Regions from separate parts of the Homo sapiens genome. Here region 1 is linked to region 2. Evidence: promoter capture Hi-C in 16 types of primary human blood cells and fetal thymus (Javierre and others, 2016). All regions are on one chromosome and are shown on one strand. The core of a region is centred on a gene start or on the middle of the fragment in contact, and the rest is flanking DNA. Distances in the headings are between cores, read along the strand shown.

Region 1 (5,396 bases), core at 1,380-3,879, 1.4 Mb after region 2:
CCCAGGCAAGGCTGAACTTGGCAAGACCTCATCTCTACAGAAAATGTTAGCCAGGTGTTGGCACGTACATGTAGTCCCAGCTACTCGTGAGGCTGAGCAGGATAACTTGAGCCCAGGAGTTTGAGGCTGCTGTGAGCCATGATCACACCACTGCACTGCAGCGTGGGCGGGAGACTGTCCACCACCAAGATAATAAAAAAAAAAAAAACGAAAAAGGAAAAGCTTCCTGGGTGCTTCATTGATAACACTAAAATCTTAACCTTTTGCTTTATCTGATTGTCACTGATTACTTTTTCCCCCATTATACCATTACTTGGCATTTATTCCTCTACAAGAACTTTGGAATTTTAAAGAGTAACTCCTTAATATAAGTTTTGCATAAAGTAGCTTTTAACAAAGTCGTTAAAATGAATATAATTTGACTTTCACTTGTCTCTCAAAAGGACTAGATCTCCTTCCATGTTTTGTCATGATTAAGTGTCTAGAAGTGAAAATGCACAAAAATTGTAAAGCAATTTACTGAAATAATTTATCCTCCATCATGATGTGATGTGTCTTCACCAATGTAGCCAAATTTAGGCTTTCTGGGCTGCTTACTTTAAATGCAATATAGTGCAATGCAAATTTCTAAAGCATTGCTTTTCTATGCAATGAAGATTAAGTTCAGTGTTATCTAAGCACTTTCTACTGATCTTGAAATGCAGAATAAATTAGTAGACTGAAAGAGCTCCCTAAAATCTTAATGCAATTTCAGACTGTATTTGCTATCATTTATAAAATTTTATTATTCAATATTTGGCAAGTATTATTGGTCAGCCCTTTTTGCTTACAATGACTATATATATATTTCAAGCCTTTCTCATTCTTCTGCAATTTGCAAAGCATGAGAAGCAGTTATCCCAGTGGCTTATCTCAGCTCACAAGGGTACCAACAAGGGAGACAGAGATAATGTTCTTAAAGTATAGGGTCCATAGGAACTGGAAAGCTTAATTCTTGCTGTGACACTGTGGGGTTTCCATCATTATTTAAAAGACCTTAGACTAACAAGCCATGTACATCCATTTAAGGGAATGTTTATAAATATCAGACTTTGAGTTCACTGCTTTGTGAAGGTCGCTTTGTTATATGGTGAGGGCAGTTTATTTCAGCACCCATCACCCTGTAACATGTACTTAAAATAAATAAAAAGTCCAAGAGGAGTCTTTGCCTCCCTCATCATTAAAATAAATTTTAAAACAACGTAACTGTTTACTAAATTGAAATATTTCATTGAAATGCTTCATTGATAGCTCTGATTCCTTATTTTTAAAAAATTTATTTCATATAAATCTCATATGGTACAAAAGTATTACATGCTTGGGCCTGTCTTGCAAAATAAGAGGTTCTTTCAGTTCTTCAGGCCAACCTTCCTTCAGAGGCAAATAAATAAGAAACATGTAGAACATATTTAGAAAATTTTTTACCATAATAAAAATATGTGAACATCTTATATTTAGCATAGTTTAGCAATCCAGTTTATGTCGACAAATTTAGTTCACTGCTGGGAGGCACATGTCACAGAAGAACCTAATAGGCAGCAGATATTTTAACCTGTAGGAACAAAATGTTTAACATTTTTCTTGTATTTTTTGAAGAAGGTACTCCATTTGTACATTCAAGTTTGGTTGGCCCTTTTTAGTCTTTTTGTTCAGTATTTTAAACACTTCCATTTTCTTCTTTTTGTACTGCCTTTGGGCTTCTTCTCTCTCCTGTTTTCTCCTCTCGAATTCCTAAAATTATTAACATATGTAACTTTCATTAGCAACAAACAGTAGATACAGTTCAGAAATTGTCTTGAAATAGCTATTACTAAGCAAACACTCTAAGGTTTGTCTCTTCTATTTTGCAAGATGTGCACTGTTTCTCCTAATTGAAGCAAAGTACCCTCTTTGCCTTCATATTATAATGACCCATGGTATAACAGAGAATTTTCATGATCACAAAGCCCCAGCTCTATATAAACAAAATTTTAAAAGGACATTAAATGTTTTACAGCATAATGGTCATTACTGCACTTCATCTGATATACTGTTTCCAAAGGTGACAGATGGTTGGAAAAAGCATAAAGCTGTGCTAGTTAATACTGGTCCAGTATTCCCATGAAGAAATTTTCCTGCTTTCTCCTAATCTGCCACCAGCTTAAGAACAATGAAAACATTTTTGATGTTAAGAATTCTTAATTACAGATATTCTAAAGCAAAAACAAGCAAAATTACATATCTTTAGGGTATTTTTAACTGACACATTATACTTTTTAAAGCTACAGATCAATAAAACTTCAATGGAAAAACAAGAACTACCACAGTTACAACAAAATGACAATTTTGTTGAGGCTGTGGGTAATTCTGTATTCATTTGAAAAAAGCCTAATTCTGGTCTACAATTCTGGTTTTCTAAATAATAGAGTGCTAACTTTTGCTAAGCTAAAATAATAGTTGTTTTTTTTTTTTAAACAGGCAAGAACACCTCTTTATAGTAAAAAAGTATTTTATTCTAACACCTCCCCTTTGCTTTTACTTTCTTCAATGTAATGTTATGAAAATCATCTATATTTTTCTTAGGTCAGTGGTTCTCAAGTTTTATCATACATAAAAATCTTTTGAGGTGCTTGTTAACAAGTGCAAGTTCCTGGACCAAACTCAGTGAAACTTTGTCCCAGATGTTCACAATATTGACCTATAAACAATGTGTTCAAAATCCTATTTTTGACCTACTAGTATTGCTTGACATAATACAAGCAAGGACTTGGAATAAGATGCAATCCTCTACCTTTGCTCAGACTACTCATTCATTCAACAAATATTTACAGAGAGAATACTGTGTGCCCAGCACCAAGAAGCACAACAGGTATAGTATATATATTTAGGATAAATAAGAAAAACTATACTAAATATTTTCAAAGTAGAACTTACTTGTTTCTTAGCAGCACGTTTGGCTTGTATCTGTTCATATTCTTCTTGTGCTTTTTGATTTGATGTTTTCTTTTTATTTTTCTTTGGAATTGTAAAGGAGCTTTTAATTGGGGGATGAGGAAACAGGACTTTATTAGTAAAATGTCCAAAAAGGTATTAAAAACACAGTTGTAGCTTTTAAGAGTATATATTAAATAAAAGGCACAAATGGGGATTCTTAGAGAAATATTTCAACTAGGAAAAAATATAGAAAGCTATGAAAAATCCTAAAATGTTAAAAAAAAAAACTTTTAAAAGTAATGAAACCAGTATATGAATGATAGAAATGCCAGACTGAAAAAAGAATTAAACTTGTTGTTTAAGGATGTTAAGAAAATTATGTGTATATATGAACTTTAATCTCGAAGTTTTCTGAGCCCCTCCTCTCTATTCCATTTTACCTACCTAGTCATGAATCACCATACCTTGGATCTAGATACCATTTTGAACTGTTCTATCTTTAACTACTTCTCACCTCTCTGAAGATGTCCTTTTTGTCAAGGCTAATCCAACTACTTGGAATTCCATTCATTTCCTCAGCATCCTTGATTCAGTAATAACTTTACTTTCCTCTATCATTCAACTTTTCACTATACTCTGTAACTACAATATAATATTTTAATAGCTACTAATCACTAGCGACTTTGGACTAGTGACTAGTGACTGCCTAGTCCACAAATCCAGAGACCTGTCCTCAGTCCTATTCACCTTCAACTTTATAGTACAGTAGCACACCCCTTATCCATGGTTTCCCTGTTCCACGGTTTCAGTTACCTGCAGTCAACAGAGGTCCAAAAATATTAAATTGAAAAATTCCAGAAATAAACAATTCATATGTTTTAAATTGTACACCACACTGAGTGTTTGCTTTAAGTGAAAAGGTAAAAGTTCTTGACTTAATAAGGAAGGAAAAAAAATCGTATGTTGAAGTTGCTAAGATCTATGGTTTTAAAAAAAATCTTCTATACATCAAATTGTGAAGGAAAAATAAATTCATGCTAGTTTTGCTGTCATACTTCAAACTGCAAAAGTTATGGCCACAGTACGTGATTTAAGATGGAAAAGGCATTAAATTCCCAAGTAAAAGACATTAACAGAAATACATTCCAATTGACAGAAACTGGGTTTGGTACCATTTGCAGTTTCAGGGCATCCACTGGGGGTCTTGGAACATCTTCCAAACAGATAACGGGGGACCACAATATTTGATAGCTGACTAATCCCTCACAACTTTTCTCTGTGGACTGAGCTGTCACTGTATTTCTCTTTCTCCAGTCCTGAAAAGCTTAACTTCCTCAATGACAATATTTTCCCTGTTTCCACCCCAAAATAAACCGTAATCTTTAAAAGCATGATTTTTTACCTTCCTTTCTCATGATTTAAACTTCCTTACTTCAATTATCAGAGAATAACTCAAATCTACATTTCTACTGCTAATCTTTTCCCTGAACTTTATACTGATTATTTAACAATATAATGATCAAGCCTACCAAAAGTAGTAAACTTTTTGTGTCTCTGCCTTCATCCCCAATTACATTTTTACCCCCCGTGGTCCCATTTCCTGTTATTTTTAGCGCAAATAGCTCACGACTTTAAAAGATACGGTTTTAATGAAGTAAAAAATTATGCTCCCAAGTTAATACCCAGCTTCTTGCAATTTTAGATTTTAGCATTGTTTTTTAACTTTAAGTATGCAGCGATAGTTTTTTATAAGTTAACTCTTATAAAACCAAAGCGTCACGGAGCTGTGCATTTGCAATTGCAACCCATTTCTGGTCCTCTGCAGAAAATCCAGATTAATAGTAGTAGCTAACGCTCAAGAGCACTAACCACGTACCATATATACCCTTTAAGATCCTCATATACATTAACTCGCTGAGTCTTCACAACAATGTCATGAAACACCTTAGGAACACCTGAGTTTATGTGAGTAATCCATTCTGGAGCTGTGCAACATGGCAGCTCTGAAGTATATATTCATTACAGTATTATCTTTCCCAATTTAAAGAGGACATAGTGTTATTTTTCCCATTTTAAAGAAGAGGTCACTGGGGCACTAACATGTTGAGTCTGGCTCTAGAACCCATACTGTTAATGACTAAAATTATAACACCTCTCAGAAGTTATTTTTCAAAAATATAGTCATAACATATGGTCCAATCAAGTTACCACCTGTACTTGAGAGGAAGAAACCCAAATTCCAGAGCTCTTAATTCCCATTACGTTACTTTGTCAATTAGGCTAAACCAGCCTAATTCAGTTATTGAAGCTAAAAATAGAGCCTCCATGAAAATGTTTCCCTAATTAAACCGTGACTTCTAAAATGTGTTAAATAAGAAAAAATACAATTCCTATATAAATTATCCTATAGTACTTTTAAATAATAAAACAACACTTAAAGGATT
Region 2 (5,044 bases), core at 1,704-4,203:
TCTGGCCTATGTTATCACTATCATCCTTTCCATGGTTAAAATACTGTGAATCTATGAAATGCACCTCAGTTCACTAGGAAATCACTATATTTTAACATTGCTTAAGTTACTGCTATCCTGAGTTTACTTACACCAACTTAACATTATTTTTTTATTGTACTGTGAGTCAGGGACTATAGCAGACACTGAGAATTCAAAGATGAATTTAGAAATGGTCTCTTCCCTCACGGAGTTCTATCCAATAGGGATAGACAAATGCAACAGAGTGTGATAAATGCTTTAATGGGGCCAAAGCAGCAAGTCAATTTAGAGCGCATCAAAGGGTACCAAAGCAGCCTGGGAGAGAGGTGATCTGGAAAATCTCCCAGTAGGTGACCAAAAACTGAGTCCTAACTCTAATTAATTGAATTATAGACTGCTAAAGCTGCACAGTGTTAGAATCATCTAATTCAAACTCCTGATGTGGCACAGAGAGAATCTGATGTCCAGAGAGGCTGATGTATGCAGAGTGAGTATCAGAGTTGCAGCTAGGACCCAGATATGTAATACTGGGTTGCCTCTTTAAAAATGCACCTTTTTTGAAGGGAAATTTTTAGAACCTTTTCCTTCATCAGTTTAATAATGAAAGTAATTAATCATATTTGAATAAGATACGGAGAACAATATTTATATATATTGACTTTATGCTCAGTGGTGATGCCAATAACCCATCATCTCTTGGTTATAGATTTTCCATGAGCTGCTGATGAATTTTTTCAGACTCATCCACAGGGTAAACCTGCTTGTCTCCTGAGCTACTGCATGTACGTAATTACACTCAGAAGGACAAGTAGAGTTTGGCTGTGAACAAGAGCAAACTTTAAAAATAAATCTTAGTCCGATTAGCACCTCCTCTCATCAACCGACTGAGGCATCTAAGGGCTAAGGTAAAACCCAACATTGAAATATTTGTATTATTAGTAGTAGTGGTAGTATATAAAATGACCCAGGTATGCAATCTTCTTGGAGTTTTTGCTCCTAACATAGTCACTTGATTTGGGATGTTTAACGACTGTGATTTTGTAATGGGACAATATAAGAGCTCATTACATTAAAACATAAATACTTGGGAAGCTCATAGTTTCTGATAGCTTGCCATCTGTTTGGTTCTTACCGGCAATGGATTTATCCTGCTTAGTGCAGATGATGATATTGTGGGTAAAATCATGGATTATACAATGGATTTCTGAGGTCTTTAACTACTGTTATTAATTTTGCCAGCTTACAAATCAACATTTTCTAATATAAAATCAATTACATTTTATTTTTCAACTCTTACCCTAAGAAAGGTTGCTATGGGCACCACAGAACATCTGTTCTGGCGCCAACAGATTGCGTTAAAGTCACCCACAGTCTCTCCAAATTAAAAACCTCAAACTGAGTTCACTGGCTTTGTTACTGTACTCTCAGCAGGATGTTCTTTTGCCTTGCCCATCGTTCAGTTTAATCCTCTAGAAAGAAAATTTTTAGAGGTACATCGGACTAAATCATTTTCTTCTGAGTACACCATTTCCAAATGGCCGCCCAGGGTCCTAAATCCGGCGGCTGCGGAGAGGGACTAGAGGGTGTCCTCCTCTGCAGAGCCGTAGGACTCGAGCGCCTTCATCACTGGACGCTGGAGCCAGGAAGGAAACCCACACACTCAGGGACAGGTATAACCCCACAGGGGTGCACCAGTGAGGCCCCGATCGCAGCGGAGGACTCCATCCCTGAGCTTGTGAGGGCGTCCTGGGGAGGAAGCGAACACTTTCCCCGTTCAAGTCAGAGAGCAGGACTCACTGGGTGGCAGGTCAGAAGTTGAATTTTAACCCGACCTGCGCTTTGTCCCCGCGCCTTCCGCAGCCTGGGCGCCGCGGTGGCACCGAGCTGGGAGAGGACACGAGAGGCTGGCGCGGGAGAAGCCGAGAGTTGCTATCGACCGGGAGCTGCCGGCGGCGGGAGCAGACGCGACCCTCGCCGCTTTCGATCTCGAAGCCGCGGAGAGCCGATCTCGGCTGCTGGGGCTCGGCTCCCCGCGCTCTGCCTTGCCCTTTCGGCAGAGGGCAGCTCCCTGCCTGCTGCAGCCCCGCCACTGTGCGCCCGGCAGCCCAGGGGTGCGCCCAGCCCGCCCCCCGAGTGGCCGCCGGGACTCCAGCAGTTGGACCGACCCTCGCCCTCCGGCGCCTGGACAAACTTCCTTCCTCCCGGGCCCCTGCGCCAAGCAAGCTGACAGGCGGCTCCCTCGCCGGTCTCCTCTGGGCTCTGGCCGGGCGAGCTTGCTCTCTGCCCCTCTCCAACCCCGAGCCCCTGGCGCCTATAGCCGTCCCCGCGCAGCGGCTCCAACAAAGCCAGAGGACCGGAGACGACCCGGCGAGGGGCTGGGAGTGGCAGCGGGGACCCCAGAGCCAGAAGGAGGCGTCCCCTCGGCGGGGCGAGTACAGTGGGAAGGGGCAGCGGGAACGTAGCGGGGAGAGAAAGGGGAAGAAAGTGTTCTGTTCTCGGCGCGAACGCCTTCCTGGCTCGTCCTCGTTCCCCTTCTCCTCCTGCCTGAGCGCGTCCCATGTCCCGTTGGGAATTGGCAGGCGGGGAAGGGAGGAGGGGAGAGGGGACGCGGTGGCCTGGCGAGCGAGCCGCTCCCTTACCTCTGTCCAGGGTGAGCGGCTGGACCACTGTCAATGTCGCCATGTCTGCCGTGGGAGCCGAAGTGACGCTCGGCTTCAGCATCAGCAACCGCTCGTAGTGAGAAAAAAAGGAGGAGATTGGGGGCGGGGGTGGAGAGGGAAGACGGAAAGGAGGGGGAGGAGGGGGAAGGAAGGAAGGTGGTGGTGGTGGAGAAGAAAGCTTGGGTGGGTTGGTAGCCAGATGGAGACGCAACTGTTCCGCGGCGGCAGATCTTCAGTTGCGGTGCGGAGCTGAGCAGGTATCCGAGAGCGACTGCATCGCCGGGCTCTGGGAGGGAAGGCTCTGCCCTAGAACTTTGCTATTCCACCCCCAGGAGCGCTGGGTGGGTGTAGCTGGCGGGTTGCTTCCTTTCAACTTTCCACTCTAATAAAATGGTCAGAATATACGTGTGTGCATGCGGGTGCGTGTGTGTATAAGGGGAAGAGAGAGGATGGAAAGGGGATATGGGGAAGGGAGTGGGAGATGAGTTTTCTCAGATTAAGAGAAATTGCCAATCCAATAATCCCATCCCCTTTAGAGAGAAAATGCTTCCATTATCAGAAATGTTTGGGATGTAATTACATTTGCAGTTAATTTCTGTTGAAGTTTTTCGGAATGTTGACCTATAACGGCATATAAAGATAACTGACTAAAGGCCAGCGTTCCATCAGTAGATGTTCATTTAGGACCTGAGTATATTGCCTGGAGAAAAAAAAAAAAAAAGGCAAACCTCTTAAAAGTGCTTCAAAATAAAAAACGTGTAGGTAAGTTTCTATCGCTAAGTTTTTCTTTTTCAAGCCACTGTTAATACATTACCAATTCAGTAAATGTAGCTTAGAAACAAGTACAGTGTTCAGATTTTCTCCGAATTTTTTACATACCACATCCTGTAAACATGCCCCACTCCCCCTCACCCACCCAGCAACAAAAACTTTGCTCTTAATGTCCAAACTGATTTTGGTTGTCTATGACTACGTTTGAAAAATATGTACCTAGCACTTTTCATGTTGATTTCTAACCAGTGGTTCAGAGATGCCACTTATCGATTGATTAACATATATGCCAGGAATTGAGATAGAAGAGTTACATTGCCTTGTGCCACGCCTTGATTTAGGAGTTCAATTTAGTCTCCGACTTCCTGTAGCCTGTAATCTAGTGGGAGATGGTGTTATTAAAAACCTGACTTTAGAGTCAGTTGATCAGGATTAAATTACGAGAGCCTTCAAATACTGGCTGTGACCTCTTCGCCCCAATAAAAAGGCTACTTTCACTATCTTGTCATAGTAGGGATTCATTTCCTGACTACGAAATCAAGAAACATAAAGAAACCTTCTATAAGCTGAATAGGGGTGACTGTGGGTGCAGGATTGGAAATGACAAAGCTGCCTCCATCTTGTTTCCTGTGACAGAGCTGAATTGTTTGGGCTAACAATAAACTCTAAAAGGCAGATACTGTTTTATAGCAAAATATTTGCATATAATTGATGCCATTTTCTTCTGATTACAGATAGGATTTCTGAAGGTCTTTTTCATTTTATAGTCTACAATTGAATTTTAAAAAACAACATTTCACCAATGTGGGAAAGCCAAAGATGATTGGCCATATATAGACTTAACAGACCCTAAGAACAAACCTAAAATAGTAGTTCGATATGTTTATTTTTATTTAGTATTTAAGAAAGAATGCTGATCTTGACATTTGAGTCTTAGTCATGTACTCTTCGGAAGTCACACAATCTCTCACTGATCCTGTTTCCTCCTCTGTCATACAATGGAAATAATATCATTCAATGTCACAGAGATCTGTCATATGAGGAAACTAATTCTACCTTGCAATCTCACAGAGTTTTATGAGGGTCTAATGGAGTCATACATGTGACTGTGCTTTGAAAACAGTAAAGAATATACAAATTTATTTATACAAGCATACATCCCCTGGAACCGTGTGGTAAGCTCTGTGCTAGGTGCTAACCATGCAAAGATTAATGAGATGGCCCCCTTTCTGCCCAGTCTTGCTTGGGAGACAGTGAGCAAACCATAAGCTTCTGTGCAGTACTCTAAGCACTATTAAAAGGAAGTGCCCTCGGTGGCCAGAGGTTGCAAAAACAACTTTGGTTTTTTACCGTTATTCACATGCCCTGAATTAAGCAACAGAAAGAAGTTGAGATGAGCGCAATGATACCAGAGTGTGTTACAAGCTTTTGCACAAAGTTATTAAACCTCACTCGGTAACTGAGGATAAAAGAACATACAAATCCCTTGACTTCTAATGTAGTTATTTTACAACATCCTTTATTAGGGAATATGTATTTAAGCAGCTTGATTCATCAGCCCAAAAGTCATAAATTGTACCCATTCCAACACA

What was found. The method cuts DNA at HindIII sites, captures the fragments that hold promoters and counts their contacts. A CHiCAGO score of 5 or more calls a contact.
Region 1: a fragment that was not itself captured here is called in contact with the fragment with the promoter of LIN7A in region 2 in 1 of 17 cell types (neutrophils); the score reaches 5.5 in neutrophils.

Annotation. Positions count from the first base shown.
Region 1 is chr12:82,351,543-82,356,938 of GRCh38, forward strand. CCDC59 (coiled-coil domain containing 59) reads right to left here. Exons shown (of 4, transcript NM_014167.5): 3 at 2,953-3,052; 4 at 761-1,770. The coding sequence ends at 1,609. Among named protein-coding and RNA genes, the nearest start is that of CCDC59, 4.1 kb to the right of the region's middle. The HindIII fragment of the contact is 3,290 bases long and covers 985-4,274 here.
Region 2 is chr12:80,934,981-80,940,024 of GRCh38, forward strand. LIN7A (lin-7 cell polarity scaffold A) reads right to left here and starts at 2,954. Exons shown (of 6, transcript NM_004664.4): 1 at 2,661-2,954. The coding sequence starts at 2,742. MIR618 (microRNA 618) reads right to left here and starts at 853; the gene lies at 756-853. RefSeq lists a silencer at 2,082-2,291. The HindIII fragment of the contact is 1,862 bases long and covers 2,858-4,719 here.